Linked DNA regions of Homo sapiens: region 1 is linked to region 2. The links are contacts of gene promoters, found by promoter capture Hi-C in human tissues and cell types (Jung and others, 2019). All regions are on one chromosome and are shown on one strand. Each heading gives the region's core, a stretch centred on a gene start or on the middle of the fragment in contact. The rest is flanking DNA. Distances are from core to core; before and after follow the strand shown. Region 1 holds the start of CYTH2 (cytohesin 2). Region 2 holds the start of FTL (ferritin light chain).

Region 1 (6,127 bases), core at 553-3,052, 500 kb before region 2:
AGACACCACTTCAGCCCCCATTACGGCTTCCCTCTTTACAGGGGTGCCTGGGTTCCCTATTCCAGCCAGTCCCTTGACCACATTCCGTTACAAATAATGGGACATAGAGGCTGGGGAAGGGGAAGGGGAAGGGGCCTCAGAGGAGGGAGGAGTTTAAGAAGGGCAAGGGTGGCTGGGCACGGTGGCTCACGCCTATGGGCACGGTGGCTCACGCCTAGCACTTTGGGAGGCTGAGGCGGGTGGATCACCTGAGGTCAGGAGTTTGAGACCAGCCTGGCCAACATGGCGAAACCCCGTCTCTACTAAAAATACAAAAATTAGCCGGGCATGGTGGTGGGCGCCTATAATCCCAGCTCCTTGGGAGGCTGAGGTAGGAGTATCGCGTCAACCTTGTGGGTGGAGGTTGCAGTGAGCTGAGATCATGCCAGTTCATTCCAGACTGGGCAAAAGAGCAAAACTCTGTCTCAAAAAAAAAAAAAAAAAAAAAAAGGGCAAGAGTATGAGAGGACAAGGGGGACCGTGACGTGAGGGGAGCCAGAGAGGAAAAAAGGCCTCTGAGATGGGAGAAGGAATCAGAGAGGTGGGAGGATGCTGAGGAAAGGGGAGTTGTCTTAGCAGGAGGATGCTTGGGGAAGGGAGGAGTCTTAGGAGGATGCTAAGCTAAAGGAAGGAGTTTGGAGAAATGAGGGAGGAGTCTGAGCGGCAGAAGGTGCCAGGAAGGCCGAGCCTGTGCTTTCACTAAATTTCACCTTCCCCTGTTCCATTCCCCATGACCGATACCAAATAGCATAGCATTTAGAAAAAAGTAAATCTTGGCCAGGCGCGGTGGCTCACGCCTGTAACCCCAGCACTTTGGAGGGCCAAGGTGGGCGGATCATGAGGTCAGGAGTTCGAGACCAGCTTGGCCAACATGGTGAAACGCCCGTCTCTATTAAAAATACAAAAAATAGCCAGGCATGCACCATCATGGTGCAACCCTGTAATCCCAGCTACTCGGGAGGCTGAGGCAGGAGAATTGCTTGAACCCGGGAGGCGGAGGTTGCAGTGAACCGAGATCGCGCAACTGCACTCCAGCTTGGGCGACAGAGCAAGACTCTGTCTCAAAAAAAAAAAAAAAAGAAAAAACGAAGAAGTCTTTTGTTTCACCACTCCACGACTCCGAAGAGGCTGAGGGGGATGGGGAGGGCATAGATGGTGATAAAGAAGGAGTTCGGCGGTAAGAAGGGGCTGAGAGGAGGGGAAATACGCGGAGAAGAAATGCAAAAGAAAAGGAGGCCTAAAGCCGCTCCCGGTTGCATGGCAACCTTTGCGGTCAGAAGCCAGCATGGCCTGCTAGGAGGTGTGGCTTACGGAAACAAGCCAGTTCTAGCCCCGCCTCCTAGCAACAAGACTAACAAAGTACCGCCCCCTAGCAACGTATTATCGGAGGCGGGGCTCGGTTTACCTAGACTCCAAGTGTCCAGGGCCTTTGAGCAGGCGCAGAGGTGGCTGTACCGCGTGGCTCCGCCTCCGCGCGACACTTTTCCGGGGCTTCTCATTGGAGAGCAAGCCTGTCAAGTGCTTTCTGTTGTTTCGGAGGCGGGGCCTGCTGCCCTGCCTGCACTCCGATTGGCCCCGCGGGCCGTCTACCTCTGGCCGGACATACCTACACCGGCTTTTTGTACGACTGTTGGCCCTGGAGAACGATCCTTTGGTGGCGAGGGCGGGGAGGACGAAAGCGCCCACTGTGGATTGGACAGTGTCAAAAAGAGGGGCGGTCCCTACTGAAGGGGCGGTTGGGCGACGAAGGGAAGAGTCTTTTCAGCGCTGAGGACTGGCGCTGAGGAGGCGGCGGTGGCTCCCGGGGCGTTTGAGCGGGCTCACCCGAGCCCGCGGGCCAACGCGGATCCAGGCCCGACTGGCGGGACCGCCCCGGATTCCCCGCGGGCCTTCCTAGCCGCCATGGAGGACGGCGTCTATGGTAGGTCGGGGAGGGGCGGGGTCGGCTGGGAGTTGCTGGAGCGTTTTCTCCTGAACGTTCCGCCGCGAACGTTTCCCCCTGGCGCGCGGCGCCCAGAAGCGTTCGGCTCAGTCGTAGACTTGTCGCGCCGCTTTTGTTGGGCGCTGGACGGGCTTCCGGCGGGGCCCGAAAGCCGGGCGTTCCAGGCCATTGTTTGGGCTGAGCCTGTTTCCGGTGGCGGCGGGAGGGGCGGGATGGAGTGGTGGAGGCGAGGCCGGGGCGGAACCATTCCCGCTGGAGGGGCGGGCGAGCCCAGCGCCTGCCGGGGCCGGGGAGGGGCGCTTGGGTTGCGGGGAGGGGAGAAATCTTGGGGGGCGGGGGCCTTCGATGTCCCGCCCCACCTTCCCAACTCTCCTGAGCTGTCATCAGTTCCCCCGGCTGTAGTGACTTTTCATGGACCCAGTAGTCCGGATAACCAGGTCCCCAGCTACCTCGCCAGTAATGGAGTCAGAAAACCAAGGCCTCAGTCCCCTTCCAAGTAATGGACCTAGAAGCCGAGGCCCCCAGCCCTTTCTTCCCTCAGATCTAAGAGCTCAGGCACCCATTCCCCTTCTCCCTCAGACTCAGGAATCCGGGCCCCAATTCCCCTTGTCCCCCAGGACTCAAGAGTTTAGAGCCCCAGCTCTTTCTCCTCTGCAGGGAGGAATCCAGGCCCCCAGCCCATTCTTCTGTGCAGACATAGGAAGCCCCTTACACATCCTCTCCCAGCTCTGTCCGCCCCCAGATTGCAGGAATTCAGGCTCACGGCCCCTAGCACTGACTTTTAAACCTTGACCCCGATCCCTAGAACCCCCAGACCTGACTCCGGAGGAGCGGATGGAGCTGGAGAACATCCGGCGGCGGAAGCAGGAGCTGCTGGTGGAGATTCAGCGCCTGCGGGAGGAGCTCAGTGAAGCCATGAGCGAGGTGGAGGGGCTGGAGGCCAATGAGGGCAGGTGAGGGCTGGGGCGGATGACCTAGGGGGCGTGGGGTTGGCTGAGGCCAGGGATGCCCAGGCATTGACCCTCCACCCCCAACCCTGCTCTCTGCTCCTGCAGTAAGACCTTGCAACGGAACCGGAAGATGGCAATGGGCAGGAAGAAGTTCAACATGGACCCCAAGAAGGTGCTTGGGGCCACAGGACTGGGATCAGCTGGGCAAACATCCAGGCAGGGGCTTCTGGCACCTCCGGGTTCCAGAAGCGTGATGGTGCCGGGTCTATTCTAGGTGGACAGACTTGGTCCTAATCCCTGGATTCAGATACTGGCTGTCCATTTGTTTTCTGAACACTGAACACTGACCAAGTGTTCCAGCCCTCCTGACTGTTTTGTCCCCTGCCTGGAAGGTCGTCTTCCACTTTCTACTTGTATGGGCGCATTTCTGGTCCCAAGATGAGCTCGAGTCTTGTAGGGGCTGTGGACAAAGTGACATGCACAAAGGAGAGTTGACCTCTCTCCCACAAAGGTGCCGTGACGGAGGAAGGTATCAGGGTAGTGGACCTCTGGAGGAGGCAGGCTGGTGGAGTCAGGGAGGGCTTCCTTGAGGAGGAGACATTCAGGTCGGGTTTGAAGGATGAGTAGGTGTTCACCAGGTGGAGGAAAGGCTTTTGTTCACCTACTCTTTGTGTGTGTGTGTGAGACAGAGTCTTGCTCTATCACCCAGGCTGGAGTGCAGCGATGTGATCTCGGCTCACTAACCTCCGCCTCCTGCGATTCTCCTGCCTCAGCCTCCCAAGTAGCTGGGCTTACAGGCTCCCACCACCATGCCCAGCTAATTTTTGTATTTTTAGTACAGATGGGGTTTCACCATGTTGGCCAGGCTGCTTCCAAACTCCTGACGTCAGGTGATCCGCCCGCCTCAGCCTCCCAAAGTGTTGGGATTACAGGCATGAGCCACCGTGCCTGGCCTGTTCACATACTCATTTAACACCCATTTTCTGAGGCCTCTCAAGAGTCTGATCCTGTGTAGGGCAATGCTGGGGACCCAAAGAAGAATTAGATGCTGCCTTGTGCTCAGAGAGCCCTTGGACACCGATACCACAGTTCACAGTGAGATAAAGCAGTAGTAGAGAGGTCTTCGTAGCACAGAGAGTGAGAGAAACCTCCAGTCTAGCCAGGGCTTCGAGTTCACAGCCCTTGAAGGACTGCGTCTGCTAACAGGTTGTCACGTTATTCTTTCCTGAAGCAATTGGAATTCTGTTCAGTCATTCAACAAACATTGATTGGCTGGGTTCGGTGGCTTATGCCTGTAATCCCAGTGCTTTGAGAGGCCGAGGAGGGAGGATTGCTTGAAGCCAGGAATTTGAGACCAGCCTGGGCAGCATAGTGATAACTCATCTCTAGAAAAAATATAAATAAATAAATTAGCCAGGTGTGTTGGGGCATGCCTATAGTCCCAGCTTCTGAGGAGGCCGAAGTGAGAGGATCCCTTGAGCCCAGCAGTTCGAAGCTGCAATGAGCTGTGATCACGCCACTGCACTCCAGTCTGCAATAGAGCGAGACCAGGTCTCAGAAAAAAGAGAAAATGTACTGAGCACCTGTGCCTTGCCAGACCCTGTTGTTGGTGCTGGAATTAACCAGGCAAAGGCAGAGAGGGTAGGCCATGAAGTGCAAAGGCCATGAGTTGGGAAGAATGCTATTTAAGACCTGTGAGAAGGCTGAAAATGAAACCTGGCCCTGGTCTGTTGAGGGTGGGGGTAGGTCTGGATGCTGAGGTTCCCAGGGAGGTGAGTGGGGTGGCTTTCTGGCCCTCAGCACTGAGACCTTGTCCCCACCCACCAGGGGATCCAGTTCTTGGTGGAGAATGAACTGCTGCAGAACACACCCGAGGAGATCGCCCGCTTCCTGTACAAGGGCGAGGGGCTGAACAAGACAGCCATCGGGGACTACCTGGGGGAGAGGTACGGTCACCACTCAGCTCCTGTGGGGCCCCTCCCTCCCACCCCCCAGACCCAGCTCCTGCCCTCACACTGGCAGCTCACAGGTGGAACAGCCCTGCAGCCTCCCCGCAGAGGGGCCCTGGCAGATCAGCCTTCTGACTGGACTGTGACAGAATGGACTGACATGGGCTAGGGGAGCCTGCGGCCAACCGAGAGCATCTGGGGATGTGGGGCCTTCTGGAATTACCTGGCAGTTGTGGGGAAGCATCCATTTATGTCTGAGAAGGGTAGAGAACATCTCTCAAGGATCATGGGAGCTTGAGAACCGTGGGTAGACCATGGCTGTGCATAGGCACTGGGTGGCCATCTGGGAGCTGTGGGGACCGCTGGGCCCTTGTGGGAGCTTAGGAGTTGTGGGGGTCATTTGGAAGCCTAGGGTGCACAGGACTGGACATCAGATGATTGGAGGCCATCTGTGGACGTCTGGGAATCAGGGATTTATAGAGATCTGGGGTGCTTGGGAAGCATCTCTGGATGTCTGGGGGATGTGGGGGCTGTGTCTGGATACCTGGGGAGCATGGGGATCATTTGAGAGAGGTGACAGTAGGTAGCATACATGTTTGCGGCATTTCTCCCAACTGTACAAAGGTCTGGCCTAAGCAGGGTTCCCAAGCCAGATATTCCTCCCAAGAGTGTGTTCTGAGCATCCCCCACCCTGGGGGCAGGCCTGTGTGGGAGTCCAGCAGGAAACTTCACCCTCGGCAGTGGGCAGCTGTGGTGCAGTAGAGGGGGCACGACTTCCCCAGGGCATTGCCCTTTGCCCATTCCTGCCCCATCCTTTCCAAACTGTATGTGTCTTTGTCCCATCCTTCCAGGGAAGAACTGAACCTGGCAGTGCTCCATGCTTTTGTGGATCTGCATGAGTTCACCGACCTCAATCTGGTGCAGGCCCTCAGGTGAGTGAGGGGGAGGGGTTTGGAACGCCAGGAATGTACCTGTCAGGGCCTTCCTAGTTACAAGTGACAAACCTTACTCAAGAAAAAAACAGAAACAAGCAAAACAGAAACAAAAACTAGGGAACTGAGTGTGTCCTGCACCATAAAAGTTCAGGGTTATGGCCTCCTTCAGGTATGGCTATATCCAGGAGCTCAAATGGTGGTCAGAAAGTCGACTTTCTTTGCCTCTTGTATTTGCCACTGTGTCAGCATTGCTCTCTGCAGACCCGCTTACCTGATAACAAGCCTCAACCAACCCCCAGACCTGTCTAGCGA
Region 2 (6,336 bases), core at 1,176-3,675:
CTCTGTCCTCTCTCTGGCTGTCACTCTCTCTTGGGTCTCTGTACCTCCCCTCTCTCTGGGTCTCTTTCCCTCTCCCCGGTCTCTGTCCCCCGCCCCCGGGTCCCTGTCCCCGCCCCCCCAGGTCTCAGTCCTCCCTAGTCTCTGTCCCCTTCTCTCTGAGTCCCTGTCCCCCCTCTCTCTGGGTCTCTGTACCCCCTTCTCTGGATCTCTGTCCCCACCTCTCTCTGGATCTCTGTCCCCCACTCTGGATTTCTGTCCCCTCCCGCCGGGTCCCTCTGGGTCTCTATCCCCCCCACCCCTGGGTCTCTGTACCTCCCTGCCTCTGTCCCCCCCCACCTCTGTCCCCCCCTCTCTCTGGGTCTCTTTTCCCCTCCCTCTGGGTCTCTGCCCTCCTCTCTCTAGGTCTGTCCCCCTCCCCTCTCTCTCAGGGTCTCTGTACCCCTCTGTCTCCGGGTCTGTTTTCCCCTCTCTCTGGGTCTCTGTCCCCCTCTCTCTCAGGGTCTCTGTCTGAGTCTCTTTTTCTCTGGGCCTCTGTCTCCCCACCCCACGTTCTCTATGGTCTTCAGATCCTGTCTCTCTCAGCCCCTCCTCTCCCTCCACCTATGGGCCCCAAGGCCCCTCTCGGCCGACTAAAGGTCTCTGGGCTGAGGTATGACATTTGGTAAATGAGTAACTCGGGCCCCACAGTCAACGGGGTGCTTTGGACGGCTGCCCCTCCTCCATGGACTCTTCCCAGAGACCCCAAGTCAGGGGAGAGAGAGGGGCAGAGGATCAATGAGTGTACACTGAGCCACCACCCAGAGTGAGGGGACAATATGGCCACAGGCAGGATCCCAGAAAAAAAAAAATTATGGGAACCAAAAAGACACGGAGACAAAGCACACAGCCGGCTTCCAACAAGGGGGGACCTTGGGGTAGGGGGCCCGATTTGGGTCTGAGCCAGGTCTAGTTCTGAGGGTCCCACCAAAAAAGTCGGGGAGTGCCAAGGGGATGAGGTCAGCGAGTGGCCCCACCCCCATCCGTCCCCGCGGGGGCCCCTTCCCGCGCTGAGCTCAGCATGACTCAGCAGTCGCTGCCTGCAACAAGGACCCCAGATACCGGCCTGGCGGGGCATCTGCAGATCCCCTCGGTCAGGGGCTGCCCCGCCTGGGCTGTTCGGAGCAGCTCCTCTGTAGGGCAGGGCCTGACCTCACCCCACACCCCAGTGGCTTCAGCTCCCTGCCCAGCGCACGGGCTGCCTCCATCAGGGCACTTAAGTAGAGTCAAGGTTTGCGCCGACTCCGTCTCCCAGAAATCAACGTGGACCAGGCCCACTTAAAAAATATGCATTAGTCGAAGACAGACGTCTCGTCCATAGGTCCCCAGACTGTTTGTCCACAACGCAGGGCTTCTCTTTGTGGGCCTGAAGGAGCACACGTCAGGCAAGACACGAGGGCAACTTCAGAGACACTGTTCAGGGCCACGGAGAATTCTCGAAGTCTGTGAGTTGTCTCCAAAACAGCCTCCAGGAAATGCAATCCCAGAGACACCGCAAAGCTCAAAACAGACTTTTCATTCCTCCCCATTTCCACTCCCAGAAAAAGCCTGGGCCCCTGAAAGAGCTCCAAGGTATCCCCAAAGTCCCAGCCCATCTTTGGAGGGTTCCAGAGGGCTGTCCAGGGTTCCAGAAGTCACCCTACCTCATACAATGCTCCTCCTGGGCTTCCCGCACTGGGTGAAACCCACGGCTCCAGAATAACTGCCCTTTCCAACTTGCAGAGCACCTCAAGAACCTAAAGATTTCCCCGGGGAGGGCTCCAAAATATAGAGAGTTTGCATCGTGAACCCCCACCCCTGTAAATCCCAGGACTCCAGTCCCCGCAACACTCCATCTTCCAGAGATCTCCAGGGGTCCAGAAATAACACCTCACAGCCTTCCAAGCTTCCCAAGGATCCGGAGACTCCTTATCTCGCAGCGCAAACCTCAGGCAACTACAGGTCCTCCCTGCACCTTTGAGGTGCCCCTCCCCCCACTCAAGGTTCCAGAAAAATCCATGCCCTCGGAAACCCCAGAATCTTACTTTCCCGAGGCACCCCAGGACCCCAGGGTCATCAGTTCACAGGGCTGTTAGTGCTCCCATAAAACTCTAGCCTCCCAGAGGGACCCCAGCCCCCACCCTCCCGCCCACGAACCCCTGCATTTCCAGAATCAGCCCCAGGGCCCCAACCCCCCCAAGCCCCCATTTCACAACACGCTGGCGCTACAGGCGCGTGACTTCCCCTTGCTTTGGGGCGGGGGGCTGAGACTCCTATGTGCTCCGGATTGGTCAGGCACGGCCTTCGGCCCCGCCTCCTGCCACCGCAGATTGGCCGCTAGCCCTCCCCGAGCGCCCTGCCTCCGAGGGCCGGCGCACCATAAAAGAAGCCGCCCTAGCCACGTCCCCTCGCAGTTCGGCGGTCCCGCGGGTCTGTCTCTTGCTTCAACAGTGTTTGGACGGAACAGATCCGGGGACTCTCTTCCAGCCTCCGACCGCCCTCCGATTTCCTCTCCGCTTGCAACCTCCGGGACCATCTTCTCGGCCATCTCCTGCTTCTGGGACCTGCCAGCACCGTTTTTGTGGTTAGCTCCTTCTTGCCAACCAACCATGAGCTCCCAGATTCGTCAGAATTATTCCACCGACGTGGAGGCAGCCGTCAACAGCCTGGTCAATTTGTACCTGCAGGCCTCCTACACCTACCTCTCTCTGGTGAGTCCCCAGGACGCCCCTGGCCCTAATTTCCTCCAGCTGCGCACCTCCGGCCCTCACTGCACGCGCCAGCCTTCTTTGTGCGGTCGGGTAAACAGAGGGCGGAGTCCCCTTGGCCTCGCCTCCCGCTAACCATTGTTGCCTCCATCTCTTCCCGTAGGGCTTCTATTTCGACCGCGATGATGTGGCTCTGGAAGGCGTGAGCCACTTCTTCCGCGAATTGGCCGAGGAGAAGCGCGAGGGCTACGAGCGTCTCCTGAAGATGCAAAACCAGCGTGGCGGCCGCGCTCTCTTCCAGGACATCAAGGTAACTAGTGTGTGGGTAATGGACTACATCTCCCAGCAGGCCGTGCGCGCGAGGAGCCTTGATTTGAGGGCGTAGGTGTCGCGTGGGCTTCTGGGAGATTGAGTTCGGTCTTGTGAGCCCTCTTAACCGCTGGAAATAGAGGCGCACCTCGTGCAGTGCCCACAACACGCGGCAGTCCACACCGCTGCGTGGTCTTAGGGACGTATAGCTGTAAGAGCTAGGACAGGGTGCGGAGAGTGATAAATACAAGCTGTCACATGTCTTTGTGGCCTGGGCCTCTGACCCCCAACGACTCTTGGGAAATGTAGGTTTAGTTCTATGTGCCGAGTGTGTGTATTCTGAGCCATTTCTCCCTTCTATATAGAAGCCAGCTGAAGATGAGTGGGGTAAAACCCCAGACGCCATGAAAGCTGCCATGGCCCTGGAGAAAAAGCTGAACCAGGCCCTTTTGGATCTTCATGCCCTGGGTTCTGCCCGCACGGACCCCCATGTACGTACCCGCTGCATCCATGGCTACCCAACCATACCCCTCAAGCCTCTGCTCCCTTTGGGCAAATTTCCTTCAGAGCCTCATTTCACACCTGTCACATTTTAATCTGCAACTGGCTGCTCTCTCCCCCTCTTTTCCAGGGATTGGGTTTCTAATTTCTCCCTCTTCTCTCTCAGCTCTGTGACTTCCTGGAGACTCACTTCCTAGATGAGGAAGTGAAGCTTATCAAGAAGATGGGTGACCACCTGACCAACCTCCACAGGCTGGGTGGCCCGGAGGCTGGGCTGGGCGAGTATCTCTTCGAAAGGCTCACTCTCAAGCACGACTAAGAGCCTTCTGAGCCCAGCGACTTCTGAAGGGCCCCTTGCAAAGTAATAGGGCTTCTGCCTAAGCCTCTCCCTCCAGCCAATAGGCAGCTTTCTTAACTATCCTAACAAGCCTTGGACCAAATGGAAATAAAGCTTTTTGATGCAGCTGGTGGTTTTGTGTGTGGTGTGGAAGATGAGGTGGGATCTGTTCTCATAAAGCTTCTGGCTGGGTTGGGATGCCAGTGAAAGAGGAGTTGGCCCCATCTCCCATTTTCTTAACTGTCCTAAGACAAGAGGCTATCTGGGTAGTGTTGAACCTGAGGGTTCTCTGCTTGCCTGGCTGTTAACTGTCCCTCCCAGATGGTAGAGATAGACTCCAGGGAGTTGAATTAAGACCTAGGTTGGTATCTAGAAACAGATGTTAGGTCTCAGCCAGAAACAGCCCTATTTAACGAGTGATTATGGGGCCAGGTGGGTCGCTCACCTGATGTCAGGAGTTCGAGACCAGCCTGACCAACATGAAGAAACCCCGTCTCTACTAAAATACAAAATTAGCTGGGTGTGGTGGCTCATACCTGTAATCCCAGCTAGTCAGGAGGTTGAGGTAGGAGAATCGCTTGAATCTGGGAGGCGGAGGTTGCAGTGAGCTGAGATGGCGTCATTGCACTCCAGCCTGGGCAAAAAGAGTGGAACTCCCATCTCAAACAAAAAACATGTCTGCCTCACGGAAGTTGCGGTGAGCTGAGATGGCGCCACTGTGCTCCAGCTTGGGCAACAGAGTAAGACTCTGTCTCAAAAAAGAAAAAAGCCTCAATTCTGGGAGGCAGTTGGAATTATTAGGCCCTTTATATGGGCACATTGACGCTATTGCTATGCAACTTGCATGGCAACCGGGGGGCTCACTGAGGTCTTTGCTCCAGAGTTTAAGAGATTATGGCCCGAGCTTGAGTGATCCCAATGTGAGGCGCACACTGAGAGGAACTGGCCAGTGGAGCTGAGCAGCCAGGAACACGTGATGCCCAAGCAATGCTGGACAAGGGGTTTAGGGTTCATCACAGAAATGGGATGTGAAACCTTGGGCCGGATTCTCCAAATGGGAACTGAAGAAGCTTAAAACAGGCCTTAAAAAGCACTTGCTGTGTCCAAGCTGCAAAACTGCTGTGTCAGCTCTGACTCTTCCCCTTCTCCTTCCCCTGGGTCTGGGGCAGGGTGGTTCAAGCCTGTAATCCCAGCACTTTGGGAGGCCAAGGCAGGACGATCACTTGAGCCCAGGAGGTTGAGACCAGCCTAAGCAACATAGGGAGACCCCCCAAGTCTCTCTAGAATAAGAGGATGAGCTCAGACCAGGGAAGGGGTGGTACTGGGGGGACGTCACAGCCAGGCCCACCAAGTGTCATGTCTGACCACACCTGGGATTCTTAAATATAGATGTATTTTTTTCATCTCATCTCCGGACACACTCCAATCACACCCCTCCTGCCCTCCCCTCTCAACTGCAAACCAAGCGGTGCAGACACAGCACAGCACACATGAGGGGCCCTCCCTTTCACCAAAGCTGAAGGCAGGGCACAGTTTGGGGATGGAAGAGCCTCGAGGTAAATGTGGGGGTTCTAGAACCCAGTGACCTCAGTTCTGGATCATGGGAAAGGGATCAGTATGCAGTAACGTGGTAAGGTTCCAGATCTAGAAGCCAGGACCTAGAACCTAGTGGTTTCACAGTGGGCAGAGCAGTTGGGAATAAGCCAGGTTAGGGGTGGGGGAAGACAGCCAGCTCTGTCCTCTGCAGGCGGATTCCCTGGAGGGAGATCTCAGATTTAGAAAGGAAGAGTAGGATCTGGTCCAGAAAGGGCCAGAAAGACAGGAAGGCATCTGGACTGAGACTGTGTGTCCTCCAGAAGGAATGAGCAGCCAAGTGGTTCTACCACCTCTTGCTTGGCCAAAGTGTAGGGGATGACAGGAGCCGGATGGAGGGATCCTCCAGGCAGAGCCTGGCTCTGACATGCCAGGGAGGGCTAGAACATCCCTCCCAGAGCCCCACTTCTGGAGTTGAAATGGAGGACCATCTGCTCTCAGTTACCTTCAAACTCTGAAAGTGCCCCGGCTCTGGACTTGATCGCCCCATTCGCAGGGACACCACGTGGTTTCCAGAACTTGGTGGCCCGCATGCCGGGCCTGAGCGTGGCCTGCTCTGTATGCTGTAGAATTTGTAAGCCACACGGGGGGCTCTAAAAGCCCCAGACCTGAAAGCACCATGCCAGGTTTCCTAAAACCTCTGGCACCACCGCAGAGTAATGGCAGATTCCTGGCCTCTGGGAAGCGGTCCAGGCCCAGGGGACTCCAGGGCGCTGATTATGCATATTCTGGAGCCAGAGAAAGGCACGGCTTTGTGGATTCTGGAGTGCAGGAACTTGGAAACTGGAGCTGGAGGGGGTGGAGTGTTTGGCGGACTGGGTGGGGGCACTGCGGGGCCACACCCAGTGCAGATCTGGAGCGGGGGTTTAGGAG

Evidence for each region. The method cuts DNA at HindIII sites, captures the fragments that hold promoters and counts their contacts. A contact is called where the count stands out against the background at its distance.
Region 1: a contact is called between the fragment with the promoter of CYTH2 here and the fragment with the promoter of FTL in region 2, in 1 of the 25 tissues and cell types used here (dorsolateral prefrontal cortex).

Annotation. Positions count from the first base shown.
Region 1 is chr19:48,467,567-48,473,693 of GRCh38, forward strand. It overlaps CYTH2 (cytohesin 2), which reads left to right and starts at 1,803. Exons shown (of 12, transcript NM_004228.7): 1 at 1,803-1,960; 2 at 2,787-2,934; 3 at 3,037-3,103; 4 at 4,759-4,877; 5 at 5,732-5,812. The coding sequence starts at 1,942. It overlaps LOC105372430 (a long non-coding RNA gene), which reads right to left and starts at 1,967. Exons shown (of 3, transcript NR_186576.1): 1 at 1,445-1,967. RefSeq lists enhancers at 904-1,404, 1,109-1,268, 1,462-2,455 and silencers at 1,819-2,008, 6,053-6,127. The HindIII fragment of the contact is 6,294 bases long and covers 1-3,692 here.
Region 2 is chr19:48,962,884-48,969,219 of GRCh38, forward strand. FTL (ferritin light chain) reads left to right here and starts at 2,426. Exons shown (of 4, transcript NM_000146.4): 1 at 2,426-2,726; 2 at 2,887-3,033; 3 at 3,398-3,523; 4 at 3,700-3,996. The coding sequence starts at 2,625. The coding sequence ends at 3,852. It overlaps GYS1 (glycogen synthase 1), which reads right to left. Exons shown (of 16, transcript NM_002103.5): 16 at 5,247-6,336. RefSeq lists a cis regulatory region at 825-1,325, enhancers at 1,007-1,116, 2,666-2,715, 5,446-5,675 and a silencer at 2,256-2,415. The HindIII fragment of the contact is 5,012 bases long and covers 1-4,495 here.